Regions from separate parts of the Homo sapiens genome. Here region 1 is linked to region 2. The links are contacts of gene promoters, found by promoter capture Hi-C in human tissues and cell types (Jung and others, 2019). All regions are on one chromosome and are shown on one strand. The core of a region is centred on a gene start or on the middle of the fragment in contact, and the rest is flanking DNA. Distances in the headings are between cores, read along the strand shown.

Evidence for each region. Contacts are between HindIII fragments. The study calls those that stand out against the background at their distance.
Region 1: a fragment that was not itself captured here is called in contact with the fragment with the promoter of ZFP69B in region 2 in 2 of the 25 tissues and cell types used here (adrenal gland and pancreas).

The regions. Positions count from the first base shown.
Region 1 is chr1:40,670,602-40,675,292 of GRCh38, reverse strand. It overlaps a transcript of RIMS3 not described here. Among named protein-coding and RNA genes, the nearest start is that of RIMS3, 7.3 kb to the right of the region's middle. The HindIII fragment of the contact is 3,826 bases long and covers 1,390-4,691 here.
Region 2 is chr1:40,448,402-40,453,413 of GRCh38, reverse strand. It overlaps ZFP69B (ZFP69 zinc finger protein B), which reads right to left and starts at 2,938. Exons shown (of 5, transcript NM_023070.3): 1 at 2,326-2,938. The coding sequence starts at 2,452. ZFP69B-DT (ZFP69B divergent transcript) reads left to right here and starts at 3,375. Exons shown (of 5, transcript NR_198977.1): 1 at 3,375-3,594. RefSeq lists an enhancer at 1,645-2,844 and a silencer at 3,060-3,319. The HindIII fragment of the contact is 23,553 bases long and covers 788-5,012 here.

The DNA of each region.
Region 1 (4,691 bases), core at 2,053-4,552, 220 kb before region 2:
TTCCTTTTTTTTTTTTCCTGAGACAGGGTCTCACTCTATCACCCAGGCTGTAGTGCAGTGGCATGGCACGATCTTGGCTCACTGCCACCTCTGCCTCCCAGGCTCAAATGATCCTCCCACCTCAGCCTCCAAAGTAGCTGAGAATACAGGCATGCACCACCATGCTTGGCTAATTAAAAAAAATTTTTTTTCCTTTCGTAGAGACAAAGTCTCACTGTTGTCCAGGCTGGTCTTGAGCTCCTGGGCTTAACTGATCCTCCCACCTTGACCTCTCGAAGTTCTGGGGTTTTGTGTGTGAGGCGCCATGCCTGGGACAACAATGTCTTTCTCTTCCTTGGTTCAATAAAGCCTCGAATCAGCCCATCTTAGATTGTTGTGCTAGGTTGTCTTAGTTCATTTTGTGCTGCTATATCAGAATATCTGAAACTAGGTAATTTATAAGGTATAGAAATATATTTCTTACAGCTCTAAAGCCTGGTAAGTCTAAGGTTTAGGGGTGCACACCTGGCAAGGGCCTTCTTGCTGTGTATTCCATGGCAGCAGGTGAAGGGCAAGAGAGCAAGACAGCATGAGAGGGACAGAGAGAAGGGGAGAGAGAAAGAGAGAGAGAAGAAGAAATGGGGTTGAATGCATCCTTTTATCAGGAACCCACTCCCTCAATATCGTCATTAATTTATTTATGATGGCAGAGTCCCCATGACCTAATCACCTCCTGAAGGTCCCTCCTCTCAACACTGTTGCCTTGGGGATTAAGTTTCCAGCACATGAACCTTGGGGAACACATTCACACCATAGTATACACCATTGGTCAGAGGACAGCAGCTAATATATTAAATGGTGACCCTTGACTCCGGTGCTGGCCCTATCTGCTCAAGTCTAGAGGCTGGAGGGGCCAGGTGGTTTAAAGCGTGGCCCCAGCAGGGTTTGTGGTCTGGGCAGCTTTTCCTTAAAGTGAATGTGAGTGAGGCAGAAACTGTACCATCACTAGGACCATGTGATTGGAGCTCAGGATTCCAGATTTCCTGCCCAGAACATTTCCCATGAAATTGTCATTTCTTTATTCAGCAGACATGTCGTAATGCTTGTTAAATGTCAATTATGAATATCTTCTTCCTCCTCCTCTTCTTCCTTCTTGCCCCCAGAAGCTTATGATATAATGAAGATAAAGGCAGGAAAATAATTAGAAAACATGAGCACTTTAGAAGAAGTATAAACAATAACCACTTACTGTAAGCGGTAGCTACTGTTATTGTTTATGCATCTTCTAAAGTGTTCATTTATTCTCATTATTTTCTTGTCTTTATCTTTATTATATCATGTATCTGACTGGTACGTATACCAGTCACTGCTGATCACTTTACATATGTTTTCTCATTTAATCTTTACAACTCCCCTGTGATGCCAGCACCACATTTCACACATGTGGAAGGAAACAGGCTCAGAGAGTGATCCACAGATAATAAACAGCACAGCAGGGCTCTGATGCTAAAGCCTGTTCTGTTAACCACTGTGCAGTCTTCACCATGCTGTTAGAGCACAGGGGACCATCTTGGCCTAGGTAGAAGGACAGGGACGACTGGAGAAAGCAGTGGACTTCCAGGAGGAGGTGACATCTGAGCTCATCATGAGCAAGCTTTCCTCAGTCAAGTGTTGGCAAGGCTCACTGTAAACAGAGGAAGCCACATGTGGGAATAGCAAGATGCCAGCAGAGTACAGGGAAAAGCTAGAGTGGGGGTGTGAGTGGGAAGAGGGCCAGGAGCACATTGCACGACCCATGAGTGAGCGCCTCCCTACTTCTGTACCCTCGGTCCCTTTGCCCTGACCCTATTCCTAGCCCTGGCGGAGAATGTGAAGATGAGGCCAGAGGGAACATTGAGAAGAAGGATCTCAGAGAAGAAGGAAAATTCAGCAGAACCTAGGAAGTGCAACTGCTATTGCCTGGGCCTTTGTTCCTGGAATGGACTCTGAGAGTGCATGGTAAAGTCTAAAGTGAAAAATTCAAGAGGAGGGAGCTTTCTTTTACCTGACTTTTGGGTCTTAATCTTAGTTGTTACTTCCTTTAGGAAACATTCCTTGGTCTAACAAGCCTGAGACCCTGAGATGCTTTTTTTTTTGAGATGGAGCCTTGCTGTGTCTCCAGGCTGGAGTGCAGTGGTGCATTCTTGGCTCACTGCAACCTCCGCCTCCCAGTTTCAAGCAATTCTCTTGCTTCAGCCTCCCAAGTGGCTGGGATTACAGGCACCTGCCACCACGCTCCGCTAATTTTTGTATTTTTAGTAGAGACAGGTTTTCACCATGTTGGTCAGATTGGTCTTGAACTCCTGACCTCAAGCAATCCACCTGCCTTGGCCTTCCACAGTGCCAGGATTACAGGCATAATCACAGCCTGTAATCCACCATGCCCGGCCTTTTTTTTTTTTTTTTCTCCAGAGATGGGGTCTTACCCTGTCACCTAGGCTGGAGTGCAGTGATACAATCAGTTTACTGTAGCCTTGAACTCCTGGACTCAAGCAGTCTTCTGCCTCAGCCTCCTGAGTAGCTGAAATTACAAATGTCAGCCACCACACTGGTTTGGCGGCTAGGTCTTATTTACCCTTCCACCCCCAATAGAGCATGTGGCTCAGAGTAGCTGCTCAGTAAAAGACTGATGAATGAATAACAAATAGCCTCCAAGGAGCTTCTGCCAAGTCTTTCAGACCACATCGATTTTCTCTCTGTCTCTGGAGTCCTACTGACCTTAACACTTGGAATCCTATGCGTGTTTGAACCAGAAGAAACCTTAAAAATCATCTAGCGGCCAGGCACGGTGGCTCACGCCTGTAATCCCAGCACTTTAGGAGGCCGAGGCAGGTGGATCACGAGGTCAGGAGATCGAGACCATCTTGGCTAACACGGTGAAACCCCGTCTCTACTAAAAATACAAAAAATTAGCTGGGCGTGGTGGCGGGCACCTGTAGTCCCAGCTACTCAGGAGGCTGAGGCAGGAGAATGGTGTGAACCCGGGAGGCGGAGCTTGCAGTGAGCCGAGATAGCACCACTGCAGTCCGGCCTGGGTGAAAGAGCGAGACTCCGTCTCAAAAAAAAAAAAAAAAAAAAAATCATCTAGCTATCTCCTACCTCTACCATCTCAAAGATGGGGTGATTGAGGTGATCACTTATTTGCCAACTGTATTAGTCTGTTCTTGCATTGCTATAAGGAAATACCTGAGACTGGGTAATTTATAAAGAAAAGGGAGGCTGGGCACGGTGGCTCATGCCTGTAATCTCAGCACTTTGGGAGGCTGAGGTGGGCAGATCACTTGAGATCAGGAGTTCGAGACCAGCCTGGGCAACATGGTAAAACCCTGTCTCTACCAAAAATAATTAGCTGGGCATGGTGGTACATGCCTGTAGTCACAGCTACTTGGGAGACTGAGGTAGGAGAATCCCTTGAACCTGGGAGGTGGAGGTTGCAGTGAGCTGAGATCACGCCACTGCACTCCAGCCTAAGCCTAGGTGACAGAGTGAGACTCCATCAAAAAAAAAAAAAAAAAAAGAAAAGAAAGGAAAGGGGTTTAATTGGCTCAGAGTTCCACAGGCTGTACAGGAAGCATGATACTAGCATCTGCTTGCCTTCTGGGGAAGCCTCAGGAAGCTTCCAATCATGGCTGAAGGCAAAGGGGGAGCCAGCGCGTCTTACATGGCAGGAGCAGGAGCAAGACAGAGTGGTCGGGTGGTGCCACACACTTTTAAACAACTGGATCTCATGAGAACTCACTCACTATAATGAGAAGAGCACCAAGGGGATGGTGCTAAACCATTCATGAGAAACCACCCCTAGTATAATCATCTCCCACCAGGCCCCACCTCCAACACTGGGGATTACAAATTTGACATGAGATTTAGGTGGGAACACAGATCCAAACCATATCACCAACAATCTTAGTTTTGTATCTCCAGCCACAGTTTCTCTTCTGAACTCCACAGTGAATCAGCTGCCTATGCAGCCCTCATCTGGGATGTCCCACAGTGTGTGCATCTAAACACATCCAGAATCAGCATCCCCCCCAAGGCCTAGGCATCATTCAGGCTTCCCTGTCTTGGTGAAGAACATCACCACCCAACCAGTTGTAGGGACCACCTACCTCCTACAGCCTCCCACTACCAATAAAACAGCAAGTCCAGCAGTGTCTACTACCTAAACCACAAAATCTCTCCAATTTCCCTCTGCCTCCCTAGCCCAAATCCCCATAGCTCTCAATGGACCCCTGCAAAAGTCTCATTAGTTTCCCCAAATCTGCTCTTTCTTTGTACTAATCCATGCTCCTCATTGCAGCTGGAGTGACATTTAAAAAATGCTACTTTCTCCTTTAACTCCTTTGCTGAAAGATTTCCAATATCTCTCCACTTAAAAAAATATATATTATTAAGTTATTGGCCAGGCGCAGTGGCTCACTCCTGTAATCCCAGCACTTTGGGAGGCTGAGGTGGGTGGATCAGGATTCAAGACTAGCCTGGCCAATATGGTGAAACCCCATCTCTACAAAAAACACAAAAATTAGCCAGGCGTAGTGGCACATGCCTGTAATCCCAGCTACCCAGGAGGCTGAGGCAGAAGAATTGCTTCAACCTGGGAGGCGGAGATTGCAGTGAGCAGAGATCACGCCACTGCCTCCTGGGTAACAGAGTGAGACTCCATCTCAAATATATAT
Region 2 (5,012 bases), core at 1,689-4,188:
TTATCTCTCTCAGTTGAGTATTAATGAGGGTATGGATAGAAACTGTACCTTGCTCATTTTTCTCCATCTGCTAAAGTGCTACACATAACACACTGCCAGCTTTCTAGAATTTAAGTAACACTGGCTGAATTGAGGTATTAAAAATATGCACTACAGGCCAGGCCCGGTGGCTCAAGCCTGTAATCCCAGCACTTTGGGAGGCTGAGGTGGGTGGATCACGAGGTCAGGAGTTGGAGACCAGCCTGGCCAAGATAGTAAAACACCGTCTCTACTAAAAATACAAAAATTAGCTGGGCGTGGTGGCAGGCGCCTGTAATCCCAGCTACTTGGGAGGCTGAGGCAGGAGAATCACTTGAACCCGGGAGGCAGAGGTTGCAATAAGCCAAGATCGAGCCATTGAACTCCGGCTTGGGTGACAGGAAAAAAAAAAAAAAAAAACCACTAGGAATTAAGGCACATGAATAACTGTCTTTGTATTTTATTCCAACTTTTTATCATGAATATTGAACATCTATACATCCACATCTAGATTCAACAATTGTTAATATTTACCATATTTGCTTTACCTATCTACATTTTTTCTGAAGCACTTCAAAGTCGTCTGCATCATAATACTTTATCCCTAAATATTTCAAATAAGGATCTTCTCTTGTACAACCACAGTACTATTTATTAAATCTATGAAAATTAACAATAATTCCATAGTATCATCTAAATATTCAGTCCATATTCAGATTTCCTCAACTGTTTCCTCAACTTTTATTCTGGATTTTTTCCAAACCAGGAGTTAATCAAGGCTCACACATTCAAAGTGGTTGTTACCTCTAGTCTCTTTTACTCTAGAATAAGTACTTCCCCTTTCTTCATGATGTTGTCTTTTTAAGATACAAGAACAGTCTGACTGTATCCTCAATGTGAGGTTTATCTCATTTCTCCATCCCCTGTATTTTCTGTAAACCAGCAGTTCAGTCTTTAAACTTAATTTAGGATCATGTTCAACATTTTTGGTAGGAATACCTTGTAGGTGGTACCAGGTGCTTTATATTACAGTATCTGCAAAGTATAAAATGCCCGGCTATCCCATTACTGAGACATTTGATTAAAACTGTGACCACCACACCTCACTATTGGAAAATTATGTTCATTCCTTGCCATTTAGTAAGTAATTTGAGGGGATAATACTTTGATATCATGTGAGTATCTGTTCCCCATTAACCTTTCAATTATTTTATTTACGGTAAAAGATTCTATCATTCTTTCTACATTTATTTATTTATTTATTTATTTTTGAGACAAGGTCTTGCTCTGTCACCCAGCCTGGAGTGCAGTGGCGCCATCTCAGCTCACTGAAACCTCCCCTTTCCTAGTTCAAGCGATTCTCGTGCCTCAACCTCCCGAGTAGCTGGGATTACAGGCATGTGCCACCACGCCCAGCTAATTTTTGTATTTTTAGCAGAGATGGGGTTTCATCATGTTGGCCAGGCTGGTCTCAAACTGCTGACCTCAAACTCCTGGTCTCAAGCAATCCGCCCACCTTGGCTTCCCAAATTGCTGGGATTACAGGCATGAGCCACCACACCTGGCCTCTTTCTACCTTCATTATTGGCACGCATTTTCTGTAAAAAGCTTTCCCTCACCAACTGAAGAGGATCTAAAAGGCAAGGTAAATGCACATTCATTCCCATAATAACCTATTTTTCAAAGTAAGGAATCAGTGTATTAATTACCTCCAATGTTTGCAAATGAATTCCCCCCCCCCCACGTCTTTCTCTATTTTAAGTGTCAAGGTGATCATGTGGAATTTTACTTATTCAAGGTGTTACCATCAGTTTGGATACTTAAGCTTTCCCAAATCTGTCGAGTGAGAGACCCTTAAACCTGGCCTCTTTTGACACATATCCATAGTCTTTAAGCTCTTCCTTGCTTTCTAGCACAAGTTACTCCAGGCTCACCTGGTACTTCCCCTGCTGCTTCTCTTTCTGACCTAGCCACCAAGTTCCTGTGTGACCCTGGGCAGGCCTCCCATTTGATTTACATTTCCCCACTGTTAGAATAAGAAAAATCAGGTTAAGTCCATCCTGCCCCACATGGCCATGGGAAAGATGAAAATAAATAATATACATAACCATGACACTGAAATACTGGTCCTAGGCTGAAAAGACCACCACTACTTAGGAAAACCCCAGACTAGGAGCCACAATCAACAACTCCGGAAACCCTCCACCCACTCGTCTCCCTAAGAGATGCTTCCACTCAAGTGACTCATTCCTTCTCACACTAGAGGGGACTGCTTTTCCTCCCTCCCACCCATCAGTTTATTCTTACCTTCTGCTTTAAACATCTTAGTCACATCCTCCCACAGGGCCACCCGCTCCGTGGCCGCCTTTGGATGACGCAACTTCACCCAGGTGCTGGCCTCGGTGGGCAGGGTGATCAGGAGCTGCTGCAGCATGACGGCGTCCGCACTCCTTTCTGAGGACCCTCTGTCTTAGCCCATAGGGCTTGTCCACCTCTGATGAGGAAATTGCTGGAAGCTCTGACAGGAGGCTTCCCAATTGTACCGATCTCCTTAATCGCCGACTCCTACTCCTCAATGTCCTCTCTCAGGAACCCAGGGAACATACAGTATCAAAATCCGAGATCTGGACTTGTGTCTATCATCGGCTCTCAGGGCGTATCTCCCAACTTGAGCTCCATCTGTCTCCTTGGCCAGCAGCTGGAGGCGCCAAGTATTTACTCTCAGCAGCCCCTGCAGATGCTGAGCAGAAGACATTAGAATCAGCAAAGGACTAAGGAGGCTCAGTCATAGGGCAGAACGCTAGAACATATATGGATCACTGTAAAATGTTTCCAAAAGATACACGGAGACGGTGGGCAGACACAGCCCACAAAATTCAAAGCACCGCGCACATGTCAGGAAGCACAAAGAGACGAATACAACCCAATTCTTTGTTTGGGGCAGTAATTATGTGTAAAGTAGCCGGGGATTTGGAATCCCAGCTCTTTCACTAGTCGGCTGTAGCAAACCGCGAAACCGCTAGACCCCGCCTCCTCCTCCCCAAATGAGAGGCTAAGTCCTCCCCACAAAGCAAAACGCCCCCGGCCCTAGCCTCCCAGCCTTTGTCTGAGCACGACTCCGGGGCTGCGGAGAGCACCGCGCGCGACAGGGTGGCCGCGGGCGGAACTCGCGCTTCCCGGCTCGCCCAGCTCCCCAAGCCCGGGACAGCCACCCGCTCACCCTCTCCCCGCTGGGCCGGCACGCCCCCGCCTTCCCACCGCTGCAGCCGGGTTCCGGCACTGCGCGGCCAAGCTCCCACGTAGCGCTGCGGCGGGCAGTCGGGGCCCAGTGCGCCTGCGCAGCGGCTGGCTAGAGCATGGTTCCCAGCGTCCTCCCGGGGAGCCGCTCCGCCAGCGCAGACGCCCCCACCGGTGCGCGCCGGGTTGGCTGCGTTCAGGGGCTCCCAGTATCCGATCCCTGCGAGCATCATCAGCCTGGCTCCTGCGGGAGGAGATGGAGCCTGCGTTCTTGGGCCCCAGACTCTGATGAAGAACAACCATCTTTCCTCCGCTGGGAAAATGCACGTGAACGTTAGGGTGAGCCTTTGAAACCCGTGACAAAAGGGAGCCATCGGCATCACGTTTTTTGGTGAAACGACACTGGTGTAAAATAATCCATAGCACTTTCCCTAAATATTATGTACATGCCAGTTATTTATTCTCAGCAGACAGTTGAATGGATTCCGGTATATTGTTAAAAGAATACCACAACAGTTTTCTCTTCTAGTATTCAATAAAAGTTCTCATGTTTATTGCTTACCTTGTATTTCTGAAATGCCAGAAAATACACAAAAACAAAAAAATTATTGCCTGTAATTTCAGCAAGCAGCGGTAACCTTGCTAACAGTTGGTGTACAACCTTTCCTGCACACACACAACGTATTTCATGCATTGTTATATATTTTCCACAAAAGCGATTATACTGTAATGCTGTTTTATTGCTGAGTTTTCTCCCTCCAACAAAATTTGAGTACATCACTCCAAATACATTTCTACATCAACAGTTTACAAAAACAACAAATGAGGAAATAGAATACAATTATAGTACTTGCTAGCTGTTATGAACCGAATGTTTGGATTCCCCAAAATTTATCTTGAAGCCCTAACCTCCATTGTATTTGGAGAGTATTTAGAGATAAGGCCTTTATGGAAGTAATTAAGGTTAGAATATAGTCCTAGTCAGAAACGAACCCAACTCGACCTTACTTGGGGCTTCTAGTCTCCACACTGAGAAAATAAATTTCCGGTTTTTTGTTTGTTTGTTTGTTTGTTTTTTTGAGATGGAGTCTCGCACTGTCCGCAGGGCTGGACTGCAGTGGCGTGACCTCGGTTCACTGCAACCTTCGCCTCCTGGCTTAAAGCGATTCTCCTGCCTCAGCCTCCCAAGTGGCTAGGATTACAGGCGCCCGCCACGACGCCCAGCTAATTTTTTGTATTTTTAGTACAGACGGGGTTCCACTATGTTGGCCAGGCTGGTCTCAAACTCCTGACCTCGGTGTCTGCCCGCCTCGGCCTCCCAAAGTGCTGGGATTACAGGCATGAGCCACTGCGCCCGGCCAGATATCCGTGGTTTAAGCCACCCAGTCAATGGTATTTTGTTACAGCAGCCCAAGCTGATGAATACACTAGCATATAATAGTTACAGAATATGAGGCTCTGTCCTAAGTGCCTTTCATATTTTAACTTATTTTGTCATCACAGAAACCACTGGAAGTAAGTACTATTATTATTCCCACTTTACAGATAAGAAAACTGAGATTTAGAGAAGTTGAATAACTTGCCAAGATCATGTGGCTTACAAGTGGTGAACACAGGCAGTCTATGTTCCTATCTGCTACTCAACAAAAATACAGCATGAAATACAATAAAATGTTAATGGTAGAATCTAAGTAGTGGTATAGGGATGCCGTAATGTAAAATTCTTTCAATTTTTCTGTATATGTATATGTTTTCAT